Linked DNA regions of Homo sapiens: regions 1, 2, 3, 4, 6 and 7 are each linked to region 5. Evidence: promoter capture Hi-C in 16 types of primary human blood cells and fetal thymus (Javierre and others, 2016). All regions are on one chromosome and are shown on one strand. The core of a region is centred on a gene start or on the middle of the fragment in contact, and the rest is flanking DNA. Distances in the headings are between cores, read along the strand shown. Region 1 overlaps SEC24B (SEC24 homolog B, COPII component). Region 2 overlaps SEC24B (SEC24 homolog B, COPII component). Region 3 has its middle 45 kb from the start of SEC24B. Region 4 overlaps SEC24B (SEC24 homolog B, COPII component). Region 5 holds the start of GAR1 (GAR1 ribonucleoprotein). Region 6 has its middle 28 kb from the start of SEC24B. Region 7 overlaps SEC24B (SEC24 homolog B, COPII component).

What was found. Contacts are between HindIII fragments. The CHiCAGO score rates a contact against its expected background, and 5 or more counts as called.
Region 1: a contact is called between a fragment that was not itself captured here and the fragment with the promoter of GAR1 in region 5, in 10 of 17 cell types (total B cells, naive B cells, total CD8 T cells and 7 more). The highest score is 14.9, in total B cells.
Region 2: a contact is called between a fragment that was not itself captured here and the fragment with the promoter of GAR1 in region 5, in 8 of 17 cell types (total B cells, naive B cells, non-activated CD4 T cells and 5 more). The highest score is 13.3, in total B cells.
Region 3: a fragment that was not itself captured here is called in contact with the fragment with the promoter of GAR1 in region 5 in 3 of 17 cell types (total B cells, naive B cells and total CD8 T cells); the score reaches 6.0 in total B cells.
Region 4: a fragment that was not itself captured here is called in contact with the fragment with the promoter of GAR1 in region 5 in 12 of 17 cell types (total B cells, naive B cells, non-activated CD4 T cells and 9 more); the score reaches 13.5 in total B cells.
Region 6: a fragment that was not itself captured here is called in contact with the fragment with the promoter of GAR1 in region 5 in 8 of 17 cell types (total B cells, naive B cells, naive CD4 T cells and 5 more); the score reaches 16.2 in total B cells.
Region 7: a contact is called between a fragment that was not itself captured here and the fragment with the promoter of GAR1 in region 5, in 11 of 17 cell types (total B cells, total CD8 T cells, naive B cells and 8 more). The highest score is 13.4, in total B cells.

What each region holds. Positions count from the first base shown.
Region 1 is chr4:109,489,593-109,492,717 of GRCh38, reverse strand. It overlaps SEC24B (SEC24 homolog B, COPII component), which reads right to left. Exons shown (of 24, transcript NM_006323.5): 5 at 1,311-1,391. Among named protein-coding and RNA genes, the nearest start is that of MIR576, 2.5 kb to the right of the region's middle. The HindIII fragment of the contact is 755 bases long and covers 1,136-1,890 here.
Region 2 is chr4:109,508,159-109,511,397 of GRCh38, reverse strand. It overlaps SEC24B (SEC24 homolog B, COPII component), which reads right to left. Exons shown (of 24, transcript NM_006323.5): 8 at 1,287-1,389. Among named protein-coding and RNA genes, the nearest start is that of MIR576, 21 kb to the right of the region's middle. The HindIII fragment of the contact is 851 bases long and covers 1,331-2,181 here.
Region 3 is chr4:109,387,519-109,390,469 of GRCh38, reverse strand. No RefSeq gene overlaps it. Among named protein-coding and RNA genes, the nearest start is that of SEC24B, 45 kb to the left of the region's middle. The HindIII fragment of the contact is 1,286 bases long and covers 982-2,267 here.
Region 4 is chr4:109,529,364-109,532,320 of GRCh38, reverse strand. SEC24B (SEC24 homolog B, COPII component) reads right to left here. Exons shown (of 24, transcript NM_006323.5): 19 at 1,857-2,032; 20 at 799-936. Among named protein-coding and RNA genes, the nearest start is that of MCUB, 29 kb to the left of the region's middle. The HindIII fragment of the contact is 3,538 bases long and covers 1-2,957 here.
Region 5 is chr4:109,814,327-109,817,383 of GRCh38, reverse strand. GAR1 (GAR1 ribonucleoprotein) reads right to left here and starts at 1,622. Exons shown (of 7, transcript NM_018983.4): 1 at 1,580-1,622; 2 at 1,006-1,231. The coding sequence starts at 1,219. It overlaps GAR1-DT (GAR1 divergent transcript), which reads left to right and starts at 2,002. Exons shown (of 2, transcript NR_186620.1): 1 at 2,002-2,553. RefSeq lists enhancers at 877-946, 1,117-1,166, 1,517-1,566, 1,577-1,976, 2,147-2,246. The HindIII fragment of the contact is 3,017 bases long and covers 1-2,537 here.
Region 6 is chr4:109,403,996-109,406,936 of GRCh38, reverse strand. No RefSeq gene overlaps it. Among named protein-coding and RNA genes, the nearest start is that of SEC24B, 28 kb to the left of the region's middle. The HindIII fragment of the contact is 488 bases long and covers 1,183-1,670 here.
Region 7 is chr4:109,471,841-109,475,216 of GRCh38, reverse strand. SEC24B (SEC24 homolog B, COPII component) reads right to left here. Exons shown (of 24, transcript NM_006323.5): 3 at 2,031-2,213. Among named protein-coding and RNA genes, the nearest start is that of MIR576, 15 kb to the left of the region's middle. The HindIII fragment of the contact is 920 bases long and covers 1,620-2,539 here.

The DNA.
Region 1 (3,125 bases), core at 264-2,763, 320 kb after region 5:
TAATATTTCTAGGTTTCTATAGATCTATTCTAGTACCTGACATATAGTAGGCCTACAATTCATTTAACATTACTGCTACAGATGCTCACGTAGTTCTTTAATTTTGGTGTAGTATAAATAGAAAGAAAACTTGTCCAAGGTTACTGAAATACTCTCAACACATAGTTCATTATAAGATTAGAATTCGTTGACTGAATGAATACAAAGAAACCAAAGTCTGACTGCAGGGCCAGAATCTTTCAACTATACTACACTAGACATTTCATTTCACATTAATCTAGAGCTCATGGGATACTATATGGTTGTTCATCTTTTAGTAAATGAAGCAACTCTTCTAGAAGATCTTGATAAGAGATTGTTTTTGGAATGGTTTACAACTTCTTACACACACAGACACACACACACAAAATTCCTAGGGGAAAAATCCTTAACTACAAAAAACTGAGTCGTTTATTCAAGTATTTTTAAAATATTACAAGGGAATTCCATACTGAGCTGAAAAGATTAGTTTTCTACTGATTCATAGAATAGTGATAGCAAGATAGCATGGGTTTTTTTTTTTTTTAAGTATAGAACATTCCAACTTCAATTAAACTTCATCCTGGATCATCAACAAAGAGATAAGAAATAAAAAGAAGGGCAAAACTGCTTTTTCTGTTAGTTTTGAAGCTTGGAATCATTAGGAAAAGAGAGAGAGAGATCAGGTACAGTTGTCAGGTTGTCAGTGATAGGAGACAGGAGGGCAAGAAAAATCACAGTATATTAAAATGAAATGATAGTTTTTTCTTTCAATACTATCTACTCCTGTACTTGAATGTAATGGCTAAAGTGATTTCCAGATATGGTTAAAAGTGATGTCTCCAAAACCTACCCCCAAGTTGAAGGTAGCATCTATTTACCTACTAGAAGCAGCCAGAAGCCATTGAGGGAGCAAAGAGTCAAAGACTATACTCAGAGGCTGGTTGAAAAGAATTCAAATTCAAAGACCTAAGCATGACAATAGAAATATAAAATTTATTTAAGGAGTAGTTATTCTTTAAAAAGAAGGGGAAAGAAGAGAAAGGCTACTGAAAATCTTTTAGAAAAAGATAAAGAGTATTATAACAACAAAAAATAATAGCCCCAGAAACAAGCTTCATAGTTGTTAGTGACAACGCTATTAAGTTGAGGCTGAGAAGTGCCAGAAAAATGTCCTTTTTTTCTTGTTAAAAATATAGCCTGCTATTATGTGTAATACATGTTCACATTTGAAGGCAACTGATGGTCAATAACTTTCAAAATGAAGATCAAGCAAGCACAAAACAAATTACCTGGGTAACTGCCTCCTTCCAGGGCATCATAACTGTTGGGCATTGGAGAAGCACTGCTTGTGGTAGAAGAGCTGTCAACACCTAAAAGGAAAACCAAAATATCTACTAGGTTTAAAATGACAAAGTATCTTAAAGCAGCCTTTGGCAATTTTGAAAAAGATGTTTTTGCGGAACTAGGAAAATTCCTGATTCTAGTAAAAAAGTAAAATGATTGATGTCTAGAGACATTTTAAAAACCAATGAATTTCTGTTAAGAATAGAAGATGAGAGTGGAGAGAATATGAAGCTGATGAGTGGGATAAAATTCAGTTAAACATGTAAAGTATCTTAGAGAAGAACAGATATTAAACTATTAAAACTAGTCAAACACATAAACAAAAACTTTAGGTTGATAGAAATGTTAATATAGTCACATCTTAAGGATTACATCTACCAAATATACTACTAAATATATTTTATCAATATTAGGGTATTTTAAGGTAATTAAATTTTAATGACTTTTATTTATATCATAGCACACTGAGACATTCATAAATGAGGAGTCTGTGGCTTAGGTTGCTATCTGGCATGCTACTAAGCTTTTCTGTGTCTCAGTTTACATATCTGCAGAATAGAGATTAAATAACACCTGCCATATTTAATAAGGTAATATAAATGAAAGGCACACTAATTCATATAAATGTTAGACTATAAGAATTTTCATTATGTGTGCTCATTCAAAACCTGTTAAGATGAGAGTTCAGTGACAATTTATGATGAAATGTGGTCACAGGTCACATGAAAAGAACAAGCAATATACTTCTTCCATTCATTCAACAAATATTTTGAGACCTACAATTATCCTGGGTACGTATGCTAGCGTATATTATGATGAATAAAATAAAAAATCTGCATGATCCTTCTATTATGTTAGAGATCTTGCTTTGTTTCACAGTAAGACAAAATTCTGTGCTACAGAGGTTATCCCTTGCTATTAATACCAGTATTATAACTGGTGTTTAAACTACATTTAGGTTAATTTTCAATTGTAATAGGGAAGGAACAGGTATGCATAATTATTTTTCATTGAATAATTTTAGATGAACATGAGAATCAGGTATACCGACTCAGGGCATAATAGCTGATGTTTTTTGTGTAGGAACATTTTCTTATCAGCAAAGAACATGATTTGGAGGCAAAGACTGCAGTTACATCAACTCCATCATTTACTTGCTATGTAACTTTGTGGTTCTTTTCTCCTAAGAATAAGTGAAGGTAACTTGCTATATAACTCTTCTGCAAAATGCTAACGATTTTTTAAATGTCCTATGTGTGGTTTTTTATGTTCTTATAAGGTCTAAATGAGACAGTGGATATGAAGACACCCATTAAATAAGTAATAGGTAGAAGACACTAATATTTATGCAGTGCCTTCTTCGTGATAAGTAGAACAATTTTGCACATATATTTTTCCTCTTAATAAAGAATGGAAAGTAATGCCCTTTCCTTTGTGTTCCTTTTATTTGTGAATTTTAAACTAAAGCAGAATGCTGATATATCAGGTCAAAAGTCTCCAAATATTCATCAACAGATGAATGGATAAACAAAATATGGTATATCTATAAAATGGGATATTATTTAGCCATAAAAATGAAGTATGGATACACGCTACAATGTGAATGAAACCTGAAAATTTGCTTAAGTGAAATAAATCAAACAAAAAAGACCATATATATTATCATATGTATATATCACATGTATATATCATATATATACCATATATATCATATATATACCATATATATTATAATATATAATATATATAATTCTATTTAT
Region 2 (3,239 bases), core at 507-3,006, 310 kb after region 5:
ATATCATTCTGTTTTTTTCTATCTGCACATGAACATTTTGATCTTTGTATTTAATTTTTTCACATATATGATTATTATTATGCAAGTAACCACATATCTGTTGTAAAAAAAAATCAGGAAATATAGTTAACTGAGAATGAGAAAATAAAAAATTACAGAACTCTATATCACAGAAGATGTCACTGTAAACAATTTAGTATACATGCTTCCAGAAGGTATCATGTATATCTGTATTTAGAGAAAAACTCTCTCATATATATACATATATATAGTATACAATTTCATATATATATGAAATTAACTGTCTTGGTTTATAGATAAGGTTTTCAGAGTATTATAGGTGATTAAAAATATTTACCCAATGAATAAATTCACGGTACTTATCACATATTACAATTTTTTATTTTCTATTCATTTTGATCTTTTCTATACTTCCTGGTAGTAAAGTAAGCTTCACAAGGAAGCTTTTAATTTACCCTTTGTATCTCCAGCTTCCAACGTGACAGGTAGTCAATCAATATTTTTTGGATGAATGACAGCAAAAGAAAACTCAGAACCAGTAAGAAGGGTAGTAAACAACAGTAGTAAAAAAAAGTTTGAGACAGAAATGCAACTTATGAAGTACAAATAAAACAGCCCTGAATAAAATTATTTTTGAAGTTTTCAAAATTTAAAACTTTTAAAACTTTACAAGTTTAAAAATCCCTACTGTTACAAAGGTTATTTGTTGAATTAACAAATTTGTTTAATTTGTTAAGGAACAGGCAGTTTTCCTCTCTAAGTGGACATCACTGTTGGTGTTTCCTTTGTGTTTAATAAAGAACTCCGAAAGTGTATCTACCTTCCAGGGCCATTCCACCTTCCAAAACTACTAATCTTTCAAAATCCAGGACAGACTTCAACACTTATAGAAAACTTTTGCTATTGTATCCACAGGGAATCACTTCTCATACTGTACTCACTACCTAAGTATCTCATAGAATTTGATTAATTACATGTATTAATTATCCTGCACTGTAATTATTTTTACATCTTTGTTCCCTGTTAGATAAGAACTTTTTGGAGGCAACTTCAATGACTTGATCATCTCTGTACTACCAGTGCTTAGTTTAGAGCTTGTCACAAAGCAGGTGTTCAAAAAATGTTTGCCAAGTTGTTATGGAAATGATTATTTCTAACTTCAAATAAAAGAAGATATAGAAAATTCTAAGAAAATATAAAATTTAAGTACCTTGTACATAAGCATACATGTCAGTACCCATAAATATTATAAAATGTTACTTTACCGTTAGGTCTCTGAAGGGATGTAACAACAATCCTAAAGGAAGCTTAGCTTTATTCAGTAAAGCCTGTGTCTGTGGAATATTTGTCAAAGTACACCGAAATGAACTGCAAAAAACATAAACAACATGGAGGATATTAGCTATCAGAGAAAAATACACTGAAGTAGATAAGATAACTAAGAACATTTAAGGACATAAGTGAAAATCATTTGGGCATGTTACTGTAACTGTAAGCAAGAAGGTCCTGATTAATTAGGCATGTATGCAATATATGTCAAAAAATCTAAATTAAAGAGTCAACACTTTCATGGTGGAAAAATAGTACACATTCAGGGAAGACCAACTACTCCATTATGACTAGCCTGAAGGAGATGAATAGGAGCACACAGAAAACATAAGTGAAAAGGCCTACTTTTTTTTTTTTTTTTTTTTTTTTCTGAGATGGAGTCTTGCTCTGTCGCCCAGGCTGGAGTGCAGCAGCCCGATCTCGGCTCACTGCAAGCTCCGCCTCCTGGGTTCACGCCATTCTCCTGCCTCAGCCTCCTGAGTAGCTGGGACTACAGGCGCTTGCCACCATGCCCAGCTAATTTTTTGTATTTTTAGTAGAGACGGGGTTTCACCATGTTAGCCAGGATGGTCTCGATCTCCTGACCTTGTGATCCATCCGCCTGCCTCGGCCTTCCAAAGTGCTAGGATTACAGGCGTGAGCCACTGTGCCTGGCCAAATAACTTATGAAGTTTTAAAGTCAATAAACAAAGAATGAATAAAGGAGATGCCAAAGCAGTAAAAAGCAGAAGTACTGAAAGCCAGGCAAGAAATTTTATGAAGAGTCGTTAATATCATGTAGAGATATCTATTTATTCCAGCCTTAGTGTTGTTCCTTGAACACAAAAAGCTTGTTCCTGCTTCAGGACCTCCATATTTGCCATTCATGCAGGTTGGAACCCTTTTATTCCCAGAGAAGTCATGTGGCTTACTCTCTCACTTCACCCAGATCTCTACTCAAATGTTAAAAGTCTTTGGGTAAACCTGTCCAGACTCTTCTATTTACAAGAGTCACCCTCCACCTGCACTCCTTATTCTGATTTATTTTTCTTCATTGTAATACCCTAAACATTACATTATATATTTACTAGTTTGACTGTTCATCGGAGAATATAAGTTCTGTGATTCCACAGAGATCAGGAACTGTGTTTTGTTCACAACTTTATCCCCAGTACACGGAAAACAGTGCTTTGCATTTAACTTCCAAGGCATTTGATAAATGTTTATTGAATGATTTATTTTAGTATGCTGATACTATTATTATTCCTGTTTTACAGTTGACAAAACTGAGACTTTGAGAGGTTAAATAAATTGCACAGTTTCACAGCTACTTAGGTCTGCTCAACTCTAAAGCCTGTACTCCTAATTATTTGTTATTTTGATAAAAGAGACATTTTCGCAAAACACACATAACTGGGTAGAAAAATGTATGCCTTCCCCTTACCTATGGGTTCTCTTATACATATGCAACATATTTTTTTTTAATAATTTTTTATTTTTTTGAGACAGGGTCTCACTCTGTCACCCAGGCTGGAGTACAGTGTTATGATCTTGGATCGCCACAACTTCCACCTCCTGGGCTCAAAGGATCCTCCCACCTCAGCCTACAGAGTAGCTGGGACCACAGGCACATGGCACTATGCTCAGCTAATTTTTTTGTTTTTTTGGAGGAGAAGGGGTTTCGCCATGTTGTCCAGGCTGGTCACAAACTCCTGGGCTCAAGCGATCCACCTGCCTTGCCTTCCCAAAGTGCTGGAATTACAGCCGTGAGCTACTATGCATGGCCCATACGCTACATTTACCTACGTAGGGGGTACCTAACCTTTTATACTACAAGGTCATAATTTACAAACTTATCAACCTGGTAGCAACTTATATTTGGAAGGATGGGCAGCTGTTTTCAACCTATA
Region 3 (2,951 bases), core at 375-2,874, 430 kb after region 5:
AAACAGAAAATTTACCAATTGTATTAGCAGTTATCAGTATGAATCAGCTGCTTTTGAGCCTGATAATTTTCTTGGAAAAATGTTTTCATAGCAATTTGCCCAGCACATGACAATCATAGAATTGCTAATTTGGGAGGAACAGGGAAGGTCACCAGTCCAACCTCCCAGTTGCAGTAGTCATTCCCTATTCAGTTTCTGAGAGATGGCTAACTAGGCTCTAGATCATTCAAAATGATAAAATAAGTCATTCTAAGGAAAAAGGTGAGTTTCTGTATTTTGGGCTTTACAGTCCTTTCTACCTCATTTTAATCATCATTTTCCAGAAACAGAAAATATAAAATGAAAGCAAACTGGACGCTGTATTATAAACATGCACATGGGCATGCACACCCTCACAGATGCTTAAAATATTAATTAAAAGTCTGGTGGTGAGACTGCTGAGCCTGATAATGAGGACTGGACATTTTACAAACAGCAGTCATGTGCTAGATGCAATGGCATCTCACAGCCAGGTGTGATTTGTGTGCTCTAGCAGGGAGCTCTCAATCATAAGCCACACAGTGGTTCAGTCTCCTGGTATCTTTATTTCAGAAAGAGCCAGCAGGTGACAGGAAAGCTGTAACAGCTGAAAATAGAACCAGATATGATAGAAAGTAGAAGTAGATTTTTTGTGGCATATTGTAAGCTTTATTTCTTGGTAGTCTTATATAGTAGGAAATTTTGTTTTCTGCCTGTCTTTTTTATCTGTCCCTTGGGGAGACACTTTGATGATCAGTCCTGGTCTCATATTGAGCCTTCCAGCCAAAGACTACTGCTCATGTTGGGCTGCAGTTCCTGCTAGTGCCTCATTTCACACACGGATTGGTGTGTGAGGTGGAGGAATGACCCCGGAGAGCCGGGAGAGAACAGCTGTCTGCCACATAGCAAACAGGGACGGCTGCGATCAAGGCCAAGCTGAAACACATGGCGGGCTGCAAAGCTTTCAGAGCTGCTGAAAATTGAATCCTTCCTTCTAGCTCCTGACCCTATCAAATCACAATGCAGGAGTTACTCTTAAGAAATTAGAGTTCCTAATTTTTATTTTACTCCACACATTTGCTTCTGATTTTACTCATGGTAACCAAAAGAAGACCTAAAAAGCAAAGAGATTAATGTTTTGAGAGGTTGAGAGCAAATGTCTCTACTGAAACCTCACTTGTGCTAACCAATAGGCACTCACAGAGTTCAGTTCTGTTTTCCACAGCTTGAGTCTCTCAGTGCCAACCTTTTGAATGAATGCTGTTACGCTATCTATTACTAACCATTGAGCCTACCTTATGGTTACTGTTTATTATATACCAGTGGGTCATAAAAATGAAAGATTAAGGTCACTATATGTTTATTTGCCATTGGAGATGACTTTAAAAAAACAAATTCAGTGGCTGCAGAAATGAAGTGTTTAGTCATTCCTGAGCACTCATGTGGCCAGAGCAGCCTGTTTACCAGGTTTTAGACACTGACTGCTTTCAGGACTCAAGAAATTCTAGCAATTAATGCTTGTTTAGGGTTGTTCCACCTACTTAGCAGGGCGATTCTACCCATCAGCCACGGTTTATTGACAATCCTTTATGTGCCAGACACTCTACTAGGTACTTTGGAGAATTACAAAAGAAGAAGGCACACATTAAATTGTAAACTCCTCAAGAGGAATTCAACCAGAGAAACATAAATAAATAGATACCTGTAAATGTGAGTGACAAAATAAAAATCAGTTCTATTCCCTTGAGTGTACTCGGTGCCTTTAGTAATAGATGTGTTACTCCCATACCATGGGCACTAGGAACAGATACTTTTAGGAGTTCAGGAAATAAAAATCTTGTGTTTTTTCTCTCTTGTCCCCAGAATGGTAACTGTAATGCCATAGTTTCACAGTTCGTAATTAGTAAAGTATGCAACACAGTTTTGACTGAAAAACAGCAATGTTCTCAAGTATCAGAAATGATGCTTGAATTTGGCAAAGTAGTCAGTCCCAATTATGTAGTGAACATGCTCTTTTTTGGAACTAAATGGCTAGGAAAGCATGTGTGGGGTTCTGAGGATAGACTTTGTGATGCCACGGATCTAAACTAGGCTTGTCAATTTAGTTAATTCACTTAAGAAACACTGATTGAATGCCAACTACCTGCCCAATTCTGTTTTAGATTTGCAGGATTTAAAAATGAATAACAGAGAGGACTTTTTCTCAATGAGTTCATAGTATGGGTGTATATGGGTGAAGGGGAGAAGCTTGGGTGGAGTGCAAGTAAGCAGAAAATTGTATTACCTTATGGCAATTGCTATAGTGATTTTTATTTTCTACTGTGATTTTGTAGTGGGGTTCAGAAGGTTGGCAGCTGGCTTTTGGATTAACACCTCTAGTAAAGTAAAGGAAAATCTATAGGTACTTAAAAATCAAATCAAAATTATTGACAGGCTCAGGGAAAATGCCGGCTTCAGCCCTGAGTGGCCACAGTCCCTCTAATAAATTCCAGTCTTCTTTATGGAATTGGTTAACCCCTTTATTAAGACCTCTCTTGCTTATTTGTCTTCTTGTATTGATATTTGGACCCTGTATACACAATACTATACCTCAAATTGTTTCTTCTCGCCTAGAAGCAAACTCCAAATGGTTCTGTAAACTAACTACACATGGACATGCCATTCTTCGGAGGACCCTTAGATCCACCCTAGGAGGAGCCCTAGCTGCTGTTCCCCATTTGATGCCCCTTTTCAGCAGGAAGTAGCCAGAAGGAGTCGTTGCCCAAAACCCCCTAACAGCAGTTAGTGTGGCATCTCCACATGGGGGAATGTTGTAGGAGTTATTAAGAAATTATTTTAGGCAGATAGACAGGAAAAGGGGTCCTTGGGAAGTTTTCTTTTTTGTTTTTTCTTTTTTGTTTTGAGATGGAGTTTCCCTCTTGTTGCCCAGGCTG
Region 4 (2,957 bases), core at 76-2,575, 280 kb after region 5:
CAACATAACATTATGTTTGGAATACTAATTCCAAAGAATACAGTTTTCACACAGGGAAGATAAAAGACACTACATATTTGCACATTAAAATTATTATTGGATACCAGATTTGGTTTACTATATAATCAAAATTGCAACTGATCTTATCAAAAGCAGTCAATATTGGCCAGGTGTGGTGGCTCATGCCTGTAAACCCAGCACTTTGGGAAGCCGAGATGGGCAGATCACTTGAGGTCAGGAGTTTGAGGCCAGCCTGGCCAATATGGTGAAACTCTGTCTCTACTAAAAGTACAAAAATTAGCCAGGCGTGGTGGCATGTGCCTGTAATCCCAGCAACTTGGGTGGCTGAAGCAGAATTGCTTGAACCTGGGAGGCAGAAGCTGCAGTGAGCCGAGATCACACCACTGCACTCCAGCCTGGGTGACACAGCAAGATTCTGTCTTTAAAATAAAATTTAAAAAAAAGAAAATAAAGAGAAGCAGTCAATATCTACAAAATATAAATGGAAATGTCCACTCTACAACTTAGCTTTGTAATACATATTATAAGCAAACCTACAAGACAAATTACTTCTGATATGAAACTATTTTTTAAAACTACTTAACCACTGATGGTATTTAAGAGTCCTGCCATCCAATCAGATCCACAGCCAGTGTCCTTATTTAATGTATTACTACCACAAGGGGGAAAAAGAGTTAAAAAGAAAAACCAGTTGATAGTATATTATCATCTTAGCTGTAGAACAAGACACTCAAATATATTCAAATTTAAACATTTCAAATGCACTAAAATACATACCTCATCTGTCAATCTGTCTATCCTGTATAAGTTGGGATGAATCATTTTCATTAGATGAACAAGTGGCTGAGACTTTATCTGACACATGGCATATACACGATCATCCAGCCGTGTGCTTGTACCCGTTCTAAATGCTTTCTACAAGGAAAAAGATAAACGTTTTCAAGTAAAATACAAATATGGTGGACAAATATTAAAACAAATATACACTGTCAATCATGGAAAAAGCATGGCCTTTAAATCAGACAGACCTAGATTCAATTCTCAGCTCTGACATTTAATAGGTATGTGATGCTGGAGCAAGTTACCTAGCTCCTCTGAGCTATACTGTCATCATGAGAAAAATAGGGAAAATAATACCTCTTTAGGTTGTTGAAAGGATTAAATAAAATGATGCATTGACACCTTTTATGGTGCCAGAGACATGGAAAGATGCTTAATATTAGTTCCTGTCCTTAAAGAGTCTCTTTCCAGAGGACATATTAAGAGTGAGCTATGACTGCACCATTATGCAAACTGCTCACACACATTAAAGAAGAGAGAATATGGTTTCACTAAAGTCATCATGTATTTGTATACCTTCATTTTCCACTGATCTTTTCTTTTTTTTTTTTTTTTTTTTTTTTTGAGACGGAGTCTCGCTCTGTTGCCCAGGCTGGGGTGCAGCGGCATGATCTTGGCTCACTGCAACCTCCACCTCCCAGGTTCAGGCAATTCTCCTGCCTCAGCCCCCAGAGTAGCTGGGATTACAGGCGCGTGCCACCAGCTAATTTTTGTATTTTTGGTAGAGGCGGGGTTTCACTATGTTGGCCAGGCTGGTTGCAAACTCCTGGCATCAGCTGATCCGCACACCTCGGCCTCCCAAAGTGCTGGGATTACAGGCGTGAGCCACCATGCATGGCCCCATTGATCTTTTTCTATTCTTCAAAACTCTTTCAATGCTAAAGTGAATAATCCTCTAGTTAAGTATTAGAAAACAACCTAGATTTCCTTTCTTCATGTACATATCTGAGAATTTTAAAAAACAATATTAAATATAGCAATGTATAAAAAGCTACCTGTTTGAGAAGGGCCAAAACATAGAGAGGAAACAACTTGAGGGAGCTGGGCGCCATCAATGCAGAGTGCTGTAAATTTGAGACAGTTGAGCCATATGCAGACAATGAGTCCACTACAGCATTCACTAAGGCATCTCTTGCATCTGACAGACTTGATGAAACGGACCGATCCACAGCTAAAAAGCAACCAAAGTGAAAGGTATTTTAACCATTAGAATCCAATGGGCACTATAAGAGAGAAAATTTATACGCATTATTTAAGAAACAAAATTCAGCTAAGTTTTTAGGATGGAAAAATGCATTTCATCAGCTCCCTCATTTCAAATGTCTTCTTATACATTTTTTTCTGAAATAAATCTGACAATCAGAACAAGTCTAGATTCTTTTGGACATTTTTGTTTTAATCTCTTAAGTCTAAAAACATTTAGCCAGGCTGGACATGGTGGCTCATGCCTGTAATCCCAGCACTTTGGGAGGCCAAGGTGGGAGGATCACTTGAGCCCAGGAGTTCATGACCAGATTAGGCAACATAGTGAGACCTTGTCTCTACAAAAAATAAAAAAATTAGCTGGGCATGGTGGCACGTGCCTGTAGTCCCAGCTATTTGGGAGGCTGAAGTAGGAGGACTGCTTGAGCCTGGGAGGTCGAAGCTGCAGTAACCTGTGATTGTGCACTCTGGCATGGGCGACAGAGCAAGACCCTGTCTACAAACAAACCCCAAAACATGTAGCCCCTATTGATATTAGTGAAATGCATATTTTTCCATTTACTTCTGAAAAAGCCTTGGGAAGGTTTCCATTACTCAAACACCAAGTCACATGTATCATTTTTTTCTGCTCAACCAATGTAATTTCTGCAATCTGAATTATACCTTGTGATCCTCTACAATTTTTGTAAAGCATTCCAAGCCAACAAATTTTTTGAAAGGGAAAAATAAACACAAGTTTTCATGCAGCCATTAAGACACAGGTAACGTGAAACTTATTTTTCTACAATAATATATTCTATTAAAATAGGGATAACCTATAATATATATGCCCAAGCACTAAAAATAGAATTATATTAAAAAACAATTGGTTATGGCATAATTAATTCAAAATC
Region 5 (3,057 bases), core at 373-2,872:
TACCTTTATTTCTAACTAGACTGTCACCCCAAACTAAAATACCACATTCCTGCAAAACCAAGTCTTCATTCCTATCACCCAAGCTCAAAACCTGGAACCCTTTATTATCAGCATTAGCTAAGTTCTACCGATTTTGTTTCCTTTGAAATCTCTCTCCTATCTAACCCTTCCTTTTTTTTCCTCACTGTCACCATCCTGATTCAGGCTCTCAAGGTCTCATGTATGGACTGGTACAACAGCTTGTGGGCTGGGACCTTTTATTCTAGAAACTGCTCCTTTCAAACCATCCTGCATACTCATCCAAGCCATTCTTAGTTAGACACTACTCACCCTCTCTCCTCTTTAATGTAGTAAGTTTCACTTTCTGTGACTTCCATTCCCATCTCATTGTTAATTACTCTAAAACTACCCTAAATAGGTGTTTTTCTAGATTTCCTCTCTGGCAGTTTCCCTCTCAAGCAAATTGTTTTCTCACTTATCTACTTTTGAGTAGTAACAGAAAGCATGGGCTTTGGAGTCAGAATACTTGGCTTTGTATTTCTTTCTTTTCTGTACAGACAGGGTCTCCTGCTTTATTATCCAGGCTGGTCTCTAACTCCCGGCTTCAAAAGATCCTCCCGTCTTAGCTTCCCAAAGTGTTGGGATTACAGGCGTGAGCCACCGCACCCAGCCTGTATTTCAGCTATATCACTAATTGATCACTTATCACTAACCTTATGACCCCAGCAAAAAAACTTAACTCTAAATCATAGTTTTCTCATCTGTAAAATCGGGGAATTAGGCATAAGTACTCACGATTACCTATTTAATATCTTCCTGTCAACCCTCAAGTTCCACCTCCAAGATGCATTCTAAGTATCCCTCAGCTTTCTTGATCTCCCCACTCCACCCTTACATGCTACATTCTCCACACAGGCTTGTGTATCCCAAACTTGCTGCCTAACAACACAAACCCCCAACCCACACCTACTCCTTCAAATAAGCTAAATACTGAAGACTGCATACAGACTACACGTTCTGGAGGTCCTTGGTCTTGGCCTTTGTTAAAGCCTCCGCGGCCACCCCCTCGTCCAAATCCTCCCCTGCCGCCGCCTCTGAAATTGCCGCCGCCTCCACCGCCGCCTCCACCTCGGAAGTGGTTGCTGCTGCCACCTCGGTTGAAGCCGCCACCTCCACCACCTCGATTAAAGCCTCCACGACCTCCGCCTCGAAAAGACATTCTCTCTCCTCCCTGATGAAAAAAAAACGACCTATGTCTTCTGATCACTGTAGCCTCTGAGTATACTCCAACCCCTCGGAGCTGCGGTGAGAACACCATAAAGGAGACAAAAGCAGCCCTGTCACCTCACCCACGGTCAGACAGCCAGTGACCACCAACCTGATGGGTGAAGAGTTTACTTCTCCATGGTCTCGTGAGCGCCGACCGACCACACACCACCCTTGCCGCCCCATGATTAGTATCTCCTCCCCCTACAGACAGCAAGGTCTTCGCACCGCATCCCCTTCCTTCCTCCCTCCCTCCGGCAGTTGGGTTCCACGTCCAGCATTTTCAAATCCTCCGGCTTCTACGGCCACTCACCGGCGCCACGTGCCCCTCTGGCCCTGGCCTTGCGCACACACCCACCCGCGGGGTACTTCCGCCGCGCTGGAACCTCCTCGGTTACCGTACCGCCACAGAGTTTTTTAAAGACCAGAAACTTGAATAACTGGTTTGCCAAAAAAAAAAGCCAATCACCCGCGGAACAAGCAACACTGGTTCCAAAACAGCCTTTAGCGCTGGAAAAGTGGCAATAATAGATAACCTTAACCACTAATTTACAACAGAGAGGCCAACTTGCCTGACGCTGAGCCGTGGAAGTGACGTATAACAGCGGCGTCCTTTGCAGCACGACGTCCCGGAAGTGCTGCGGCAATGTTGCTCTTGGAGATAGCTGGCGTTAGGGATCCGCCTTCTCTCCCAGAGGCGGGGCAGGTTTCTGTTTGGTTGCCGCCCTAACGGCCAGAACTAAAGCACCTTGCAAGGAATGAAGTTGGTTCTTGAAGTCCGTGCTGACTGGCTGGGCGCATTTGCGCATTTGCTTCTCTGGCTGCAAAATGGCCCGCAACAGCACTCACTAATTTGTTGCTAACTTCAGGAACTGTGCGGACAGGTCTCTGAGGCTTCTGAGCCGCGCTATGTCCAGTAGATCTGGGCGCCTCAGAACCTGTCACAGCCGACGGAAGCGTTTATCTGAGTTTCTTGTTTCTTCCCAACCTTTTGATTTTCGCACCATTACGCGCTCAACTATGCCTCTTCTTTTGTCCTATGGTCTCAACTAATTAAAGGAAGAAAAGCAATGCATGTGTGTGTGTAATTTTAAAGAAACTATGCTGTCTTATAGAAAACCAAACCATCATTTTTATCTTTTGTACCAGGTATTCAAGTATGTTTTGAGCACCGACGGGCTGTGAACTGGACTGTGCTGAAAGCTCCTCTCCCTCTTCTCTCTTTAAGCCCTTTATATTTGACATCAGCTTCCCCCACATTCTCCAAAGCTTCTCTCACAAATAAAGGTAATGACTTCCCATTTATTAAATTTGGTTGGAGTCTTTTACACCCAAACCCTCTGAGACCTTACCTTGATATTTGATCTCGTGTTTAGAAGAGGGTGGAACTTGGTACCTATCTAATTCAGAGGGTTATTGTAAATGGGATTTTAAAATACCTTTGTAGGCGGGGCGTGGTGGCTCACGCCTGTAATCCCAGCACTTTGGGAGGCCAAGGCAGATGGATCACTTGAGATCAGGAGTTCGAGACCAGCCTGGCCAATACGGTGAAACCCCTTCTCTACTAAAAATACAAAAATCAGCCGGGCATGGTGGCACACGCCTGTAATCGCAGCTACTCGGGAGGCTGAGGCAGGAGAATCGCTTGAACCCGGGAGGCGGAGGTTGCCGTGAGCCGAGATCACGCCACTGCACTCCAGCCTGGACGACAGAGCAAGGCTTGGTCTCAAAACAAACAAAAAACAAAATAAGTGAGAGAGGAAACTTTACTTGTTCTTTTTCTTTTAGTTT
Region 6 (2,941 bases), core at 177-2,676, 410 kb after region 5:
AATTACCTCTATTAGGCCTCTTTCTATAGATATATAGGAATATGGATGAGGATGAATGGCTTACTCTGAGAATTATTATTACTAAAATCTAAGCATTGGCTTTGCTTCCCTTACAAAGTATACATTAGGAAATAATTAGTATTACATAGTAAATTTGAAGCACAGACTTATATGTATCTTCACACTTATTTTAAAATACTTCTCTTTTATCTTTTCACAATGACTGTGAGGCTGATTATTGTTCTTATATTAGGTGAAATCTGTAACTTCACATGTTGGCTCACCAGAGCAATATTAAGAGAGATAATCATCAGCAATATCCACACAAATTGCATTCCTTAAAGCAAACCAATTGCTTTGAAGGTAAGCGAAATGATTCTTCACGGAGAAGTACCAAAATGTCCACTATGTGGTGCTGCTGTACCTGAATTACACAAGGAGGGTAAAACAGTACACTGTACCCTGAATTACACAAAAGAAGGTAAAGAAGTACACTGTACCCTTAATTACACAAAAGAGGGTAAAGAAGCACAAAGTAATAATAATTTCACCCACAAATTCATTATCATCATTGTTCAAGCAATTGTTATTGGGAAGACAAAGAAGAAAATATGTGATACTGAAATTATTACTATATGATGTAAAAGAAGCTATTTTTTTTCAACTTTGTTTCATATATGGAGAGAAAATTATCTTAGGAGAGAAGCTAATAAGTCAATGTGGGTGTTAATTTTTTGGAAAAACAATCAGAAAGAATACATAAACGGAAATTTTAGGGCATGCAAAAATTATAAATAAAGTCTGTGTGCATCTATATATACATACACACACACACATACACATAGAGAGAGAGACTTTAGCCAATGCTATATTTTAACAATGTTGAAAAACTTTTGGCTAAAATAACAATTATTAATCTGGGAATTTCATAAAAATTTTTTAGCAATCAGAATTTTACCAAATATTTTTCAGAATTTTTTCTGTAGCAATCAGAATTCTGTAGCAAGCCAAGTCATAAAAGAAAAAGAAAACCTTAATTTTGATTTCGACTCAAAATTCAAGCCCTATTTATTTTACTTTCAGGCCTATGGAGTAGCAATAGTTGCCAAAATACTAAACATAAGCTGTAAATTTTATGGACCATGCTTTCATTTACTTTTTAGGATTGAGATGTTGGAAGCTTTAGAATGTTGATTATGATGATACCCAAGACTCAAGTTTAAGAAGGAAAGGAAGCAATAAGATCATGCCTGCTATTAGTATAGTCGTCACAGTTATTGTGTAAAGGTAATGTGAAACAATGCAGAATATTTATGTTTTAACAGTTTCCATTTTATGCGACCTGTGGGGAATGAGAGTTATCCAAACTATATAGGCTGTGCCCCTCTTCCCTCCGAAGCAGCGAAGCCCGCGATGAGAACATTACTGCTGCTCTGGTACTTCCCTCTTATGGAACAAATTTGCAAAGTCTGTGGCAGTGATTCATAGTTCAGGAAAGACACACCTTTCAGAAGCAAAGATGAAGAAAGAAGGATGTTATATGTTTAGTCTTTGCTATTTTTACTCTCTGGTTTTCAGTTAAATTGTGACTTACAATTATTTGGTTATGGTGACCCATTAATTCACCAAACAGAAGCCCTATTTGAGTCAAAGAATCCTGTTTCCAAGCTTAAAAGAAAATGAATCTGTATGTTCTTATACTTTCCCTGTAATATGTTCTGTCATTTTACTAATGCTGAAAGTCTATCCAATAGACCTGGACTCATCACAAATAAAAATTTAGAGTTTCACAGAAATGGGTAAAGAGCAATTAGTATTTTCATTAAGAACTAACAAATATAAAGATCAAATTAGGGTTTTTTTTTCTTGGCCCTTGTTTATAATATGCACTAAAAATTACTATTGTACTTAGGAAGTATTTTTAATATTGAAGTTGACCTAAATTGTACTGAAATACTTGAACCTTCTGGTTGGGTCATATGGTATGGACTGTGTGCCACATAAAAATGCCTTTTATGTATTAATTGTGCCTATATTTCTTTAGCATCTGCCTCTCTCATTGGACTATAGACACCACAAAGACTGTTTTATGTCAACAGTGTCTATATAAATAGGTGCTTAAAATTTTTTGTAGAATCAACTGGCAAATGAATAAATGATGATAAACATTGCTGAATTAAATAAATGAAATATAAGCCAGGGCTAAATTCAACCTTAGTAAACAAATTTGTGAACTGTGAGCCATCCAGACTATTCCTAAGACTGAGTGTAGAAGTCCACTGGTAGGAGACTTCTACCAGTTTACATTTAAGATCTTAAGGAACTTACCATCTTGGTTGTTTCCTAAACTTTCTAGATCCTTAACTTCTACTGCAGAATACAGTTTTTAGCTTTCTTGCTTTCTTTTCTTTCTTTCTTTCTTTCTCTTTCTTTCTTTCTTTCTTTCTTTCTTTCTTTCTTTCTTTCTTTCTTTCTTTCCTTCTTTCTTCTTTCTTTCTTTCCTTCCTTCCTTCCTTCTTTCCTTCCTTCCTTCTTTCCCTCCTTCCTTCTCTCTCTTTCTTCCTTCTCTTTCTTTCTTTCTTTCTTTCTTTCTTTCTTTCTTTCTTTCTTTCTTTCTTTCTTTCTTTCCTCTCTCTCTCTCTCTTTCTCTCCTTCCTTCCTTCTTTCTTTTTTTTTTTCTGGAGTCTCACTCTGTCACCCAGGCTGGAGTGCAGTGGTGAGATCTTGGCTCATTGCAATCTCCGTCTCCCGGGTTCAAGCAATTCTCCTGCCTCAGCCTCCTGGGTAGCTGGGATTACAGGCGTGTGCCACAATGCCTGGCTAATTTTTGTATTTTTAGTAGAGATGGAGTTTTGCCATGTTGGCCAGGCTGGTCTCAAACTCCTGACCTCAAGTGATTCGCCCGTCTCGGCCTCCCAGAGTGTTGGGATTACAGGTGTGA
Region 7 (3,376 bases), core at 830-3,329, 340 kb after region 5:
AAAGGAACAATAAAAACTACAATTCAGATGTCCCCAGTATGATATTTTCTGTTACTTAAGCAAGAAACTTATCTTAGGTAAACCAAGAGTTAGTTTGTCAACAGCCAATGACAACAAAAATTCAGCTTTATTTTATAGAAAGAATACAAGATAGAGAGATCTGAGTTAAAAAATCTTTTGCTTTGCTACTTATTAACTTGTAGTCTTGGGCAAGTTACCTAACCTCTGTCAATCTCACTTTTCTCATCTGTAAAAAAGGAAGAATATCTATGTCATAAGATTAATATGTGAATTAATGAGATATAAAGTATCTGATATATTGTATGTGCTCAATAAATGGCAGCTTCTTCTACTTTCAAAATATATTTTAATAGAAAAAAGAAGAAACATAATTGCAATTGTTTAGTGGGCAAACCATTTACAAAATATTATTTATAAAAAGATGATAGGATGGTATTTATAGTAAGATGGTAAAAAAGAAAATATGATAGGGGCTGGGCGTGGTGGCTCACGCCTGTAATCCCAGCACTTTGGGAGGCCAAGGTGGGCGGATCACCTGAGGTCAAAAGTTCGAGGCCAGATTGGTCAACATGGTAAAACCCCATCTCCACCAAAAATACAAAAATTAGCAGGGCGAGGTGGCGTGCGCCTGTAATCCCAGCTACCCAGGAGGCTGAGACAGGAGAATCGCTGGAACCCAGGAGGCAGAGGCTGCAGTGAGCCAAGATCATGCCACTGCACTCAACCCCGGGTGACAGAGCAAGACTCCCAACTCCAAAAAAAAAAAAAAAACAATAGGAAGAAATAAGCAGCAGGGGCAATGTAATAGGCCAAAAAAAGCGAAACATTTAAGAAATGGAAGGCAGTCATCAATGTAGAGGAAAAACAAGAAAAGACACCATTCATTTAGTTAGGGCTTTGATCTATCCTAAAAGCTTTTTTGATTTGTGATAAACAAAACTTCTACTGGACCTTCACTTTGAAGGCAAATACTTTTAAGAACTAAATTCAGTTTCCAGTATACCCACTGGTTTGTTGAGAATCAACAGGCACTCTTTGGTGCTGCAGTTACTTTTCCTAAAAAACCAAGTAAGAAAATGTGTAATGTATCATCTGATCAATTGACAGAAAGGTCTCTGTTGATCACATAGACACTCAACAGATACAAGCAATGAGATCACCCTAGGAATTTATCATGCTTTTTTCCTTTTCTCAGTTTCAGACCTATAAGAAGGTTCTTCACACTCAACGTTAGGAGCTGTCATTACATAGTGAGTACAGTCCCTAAAATAATACAATGGTTGCTCTGGAAATACAAACTACAGATTCTTGAAAACAGTTCAATCATCTCTGATCAAATAAAAAATGCCATATATTAACCTGAAACATCAATACTTTGGAATTTTAGCCAGACAGGAAAAACAAAAACAAAAACAAAAACTGCCAAAAGAAACAATGTGGGGAAGCAGGGTCAAAACAACACATTTTATTACCTTTTACTTACTTAACACATGGAGAATATTAAACAAACAATAAATCATATAGTTCTTCAATGACGCAAGAGTATGGGTTACAATTTCATTTTCACCCCCTTTCATTTGCAAAATTCTGTCAAAGCTTACTTTCTGTTATCAATAACAAAAAGCACAGAAATAATCAAATAGGATATGGAGAGTCACTAAATAATAAAGTTTTGGCTTCTCTATCCTAAAAGAAACTATAATAACCTTTAAAAAATAGGAAATAAATGTCCCATGACAGAGGAATGAAATAACCATTATACATTGACACAATGAATAATTAGCCATAAAAAGAGCAATAAAGACTCAATATATATGAAGAACTATGTGTAATAAAAAGAAAAGCAAAATACAAAATGGTATGTAATTATGTAAAACATATATGAGACACTGTAAGTTAATATTCCAAAAGTTGTGTTTGGATTGAGATTATAAGTAACTTTTTTTCATATCTTCTATAAATACGTATGTGTGTCTGTGTGCATATACAATAATAAATATCTCAAATACCTTTTTGTTGTAATAGCTCTGATGGCTGTGTAACTGAGGTCACAGGCTCAACTGGGTGATTTGCAGTGGGAGGTGTTCTTGTTGATGAGGATCCTGAGGATCCTGATAAAACAGTGGATACCACTGGGCTGGACTTGGGAGGCTGAACATTTTGCATAACAGGACAGGATAAAGAATCTGCAACTGAAGAGAAGAAACTATTTCATCCACAGAAACTTGAAATATATTAATATATAATATAGTACCACATACAATACTATATATAATGTATATAATATATAATATAATTATATAATAATATATATCACTAACAAAATAGTTTATCTGAAGTTCTTGTAGAAACTTCAATAGCATCACATTTACCTAGTATATCTAGAAAAGGTGGTACAAATGATTTTTTAAAAACTGAAAAATTACTCATCAAATATTTTAATAAACTTTAATGACAATTTTCCTAAAATATTTCGCAATCTTCCTTACCTTCTTAAACAAAGTGAACTCAAAAAGCTTTTATTTACTAATGATCTCTATGAATACTAATTATTGCACAGATTATTGTACTATGCAATGGTGACTCAGGTAAGGAGGTGAGTAAGAGGTTTTTGACTCTGCAATAATGTGGTCTCTGAATTCCATAAACACTTCTAGTATCAGTTCAGATCTCATTTTGCACTGTAAACTGCTACTTCTCATTTGCTGTTTCTAACCAGATGCCTTATTTCACATGTAACTAAGTAAGAGCCTAACCATAATACGAGGTTGAACTTCTGGAATAAAGTGCATGACTCATCATTGGTCTTTGTGATAGCTCAAAATACCAAATGTCTCCTAGAAGGCAAAATCGTTCCCGGTTGAGAAATACTGGGTAAGTTATTGAAGGTAATCTTCAAGATTATCCAACCAAGAGATAACTGAAAAACCTATGGCAAAAGACTACTGGTGAGCAGTCACGATATACTGAATAAATCTACATATATATACCTGCACATGTATGTATGTGTGTCTATGTATAGTGTGTGTGTATATATGTAAACAACCTTAGTTCTGAGACTGAAACAAATAGGAATATGGTGACAAAACAAAATGTGTTATATGTCCTAACAGTGTAAAAACAACATAAGCACATATGAGGAATGGGGAAAGAAGGTAGTCTAAATATGCTGACTGTTTCATCATTTTTAGTAGGAAGACAAACTATCATTGTGGAAGATTAAAAACATCATCACAATATTTTACAGTTCCTTTCATCAATATGGAGTCTATTTTACCACCCTTTGAATCAGAGCAAACCCTGTGACTGGCTTTAATCAACAGTATGTGGCAGAAATAAAAGTGTACAAGTCCCA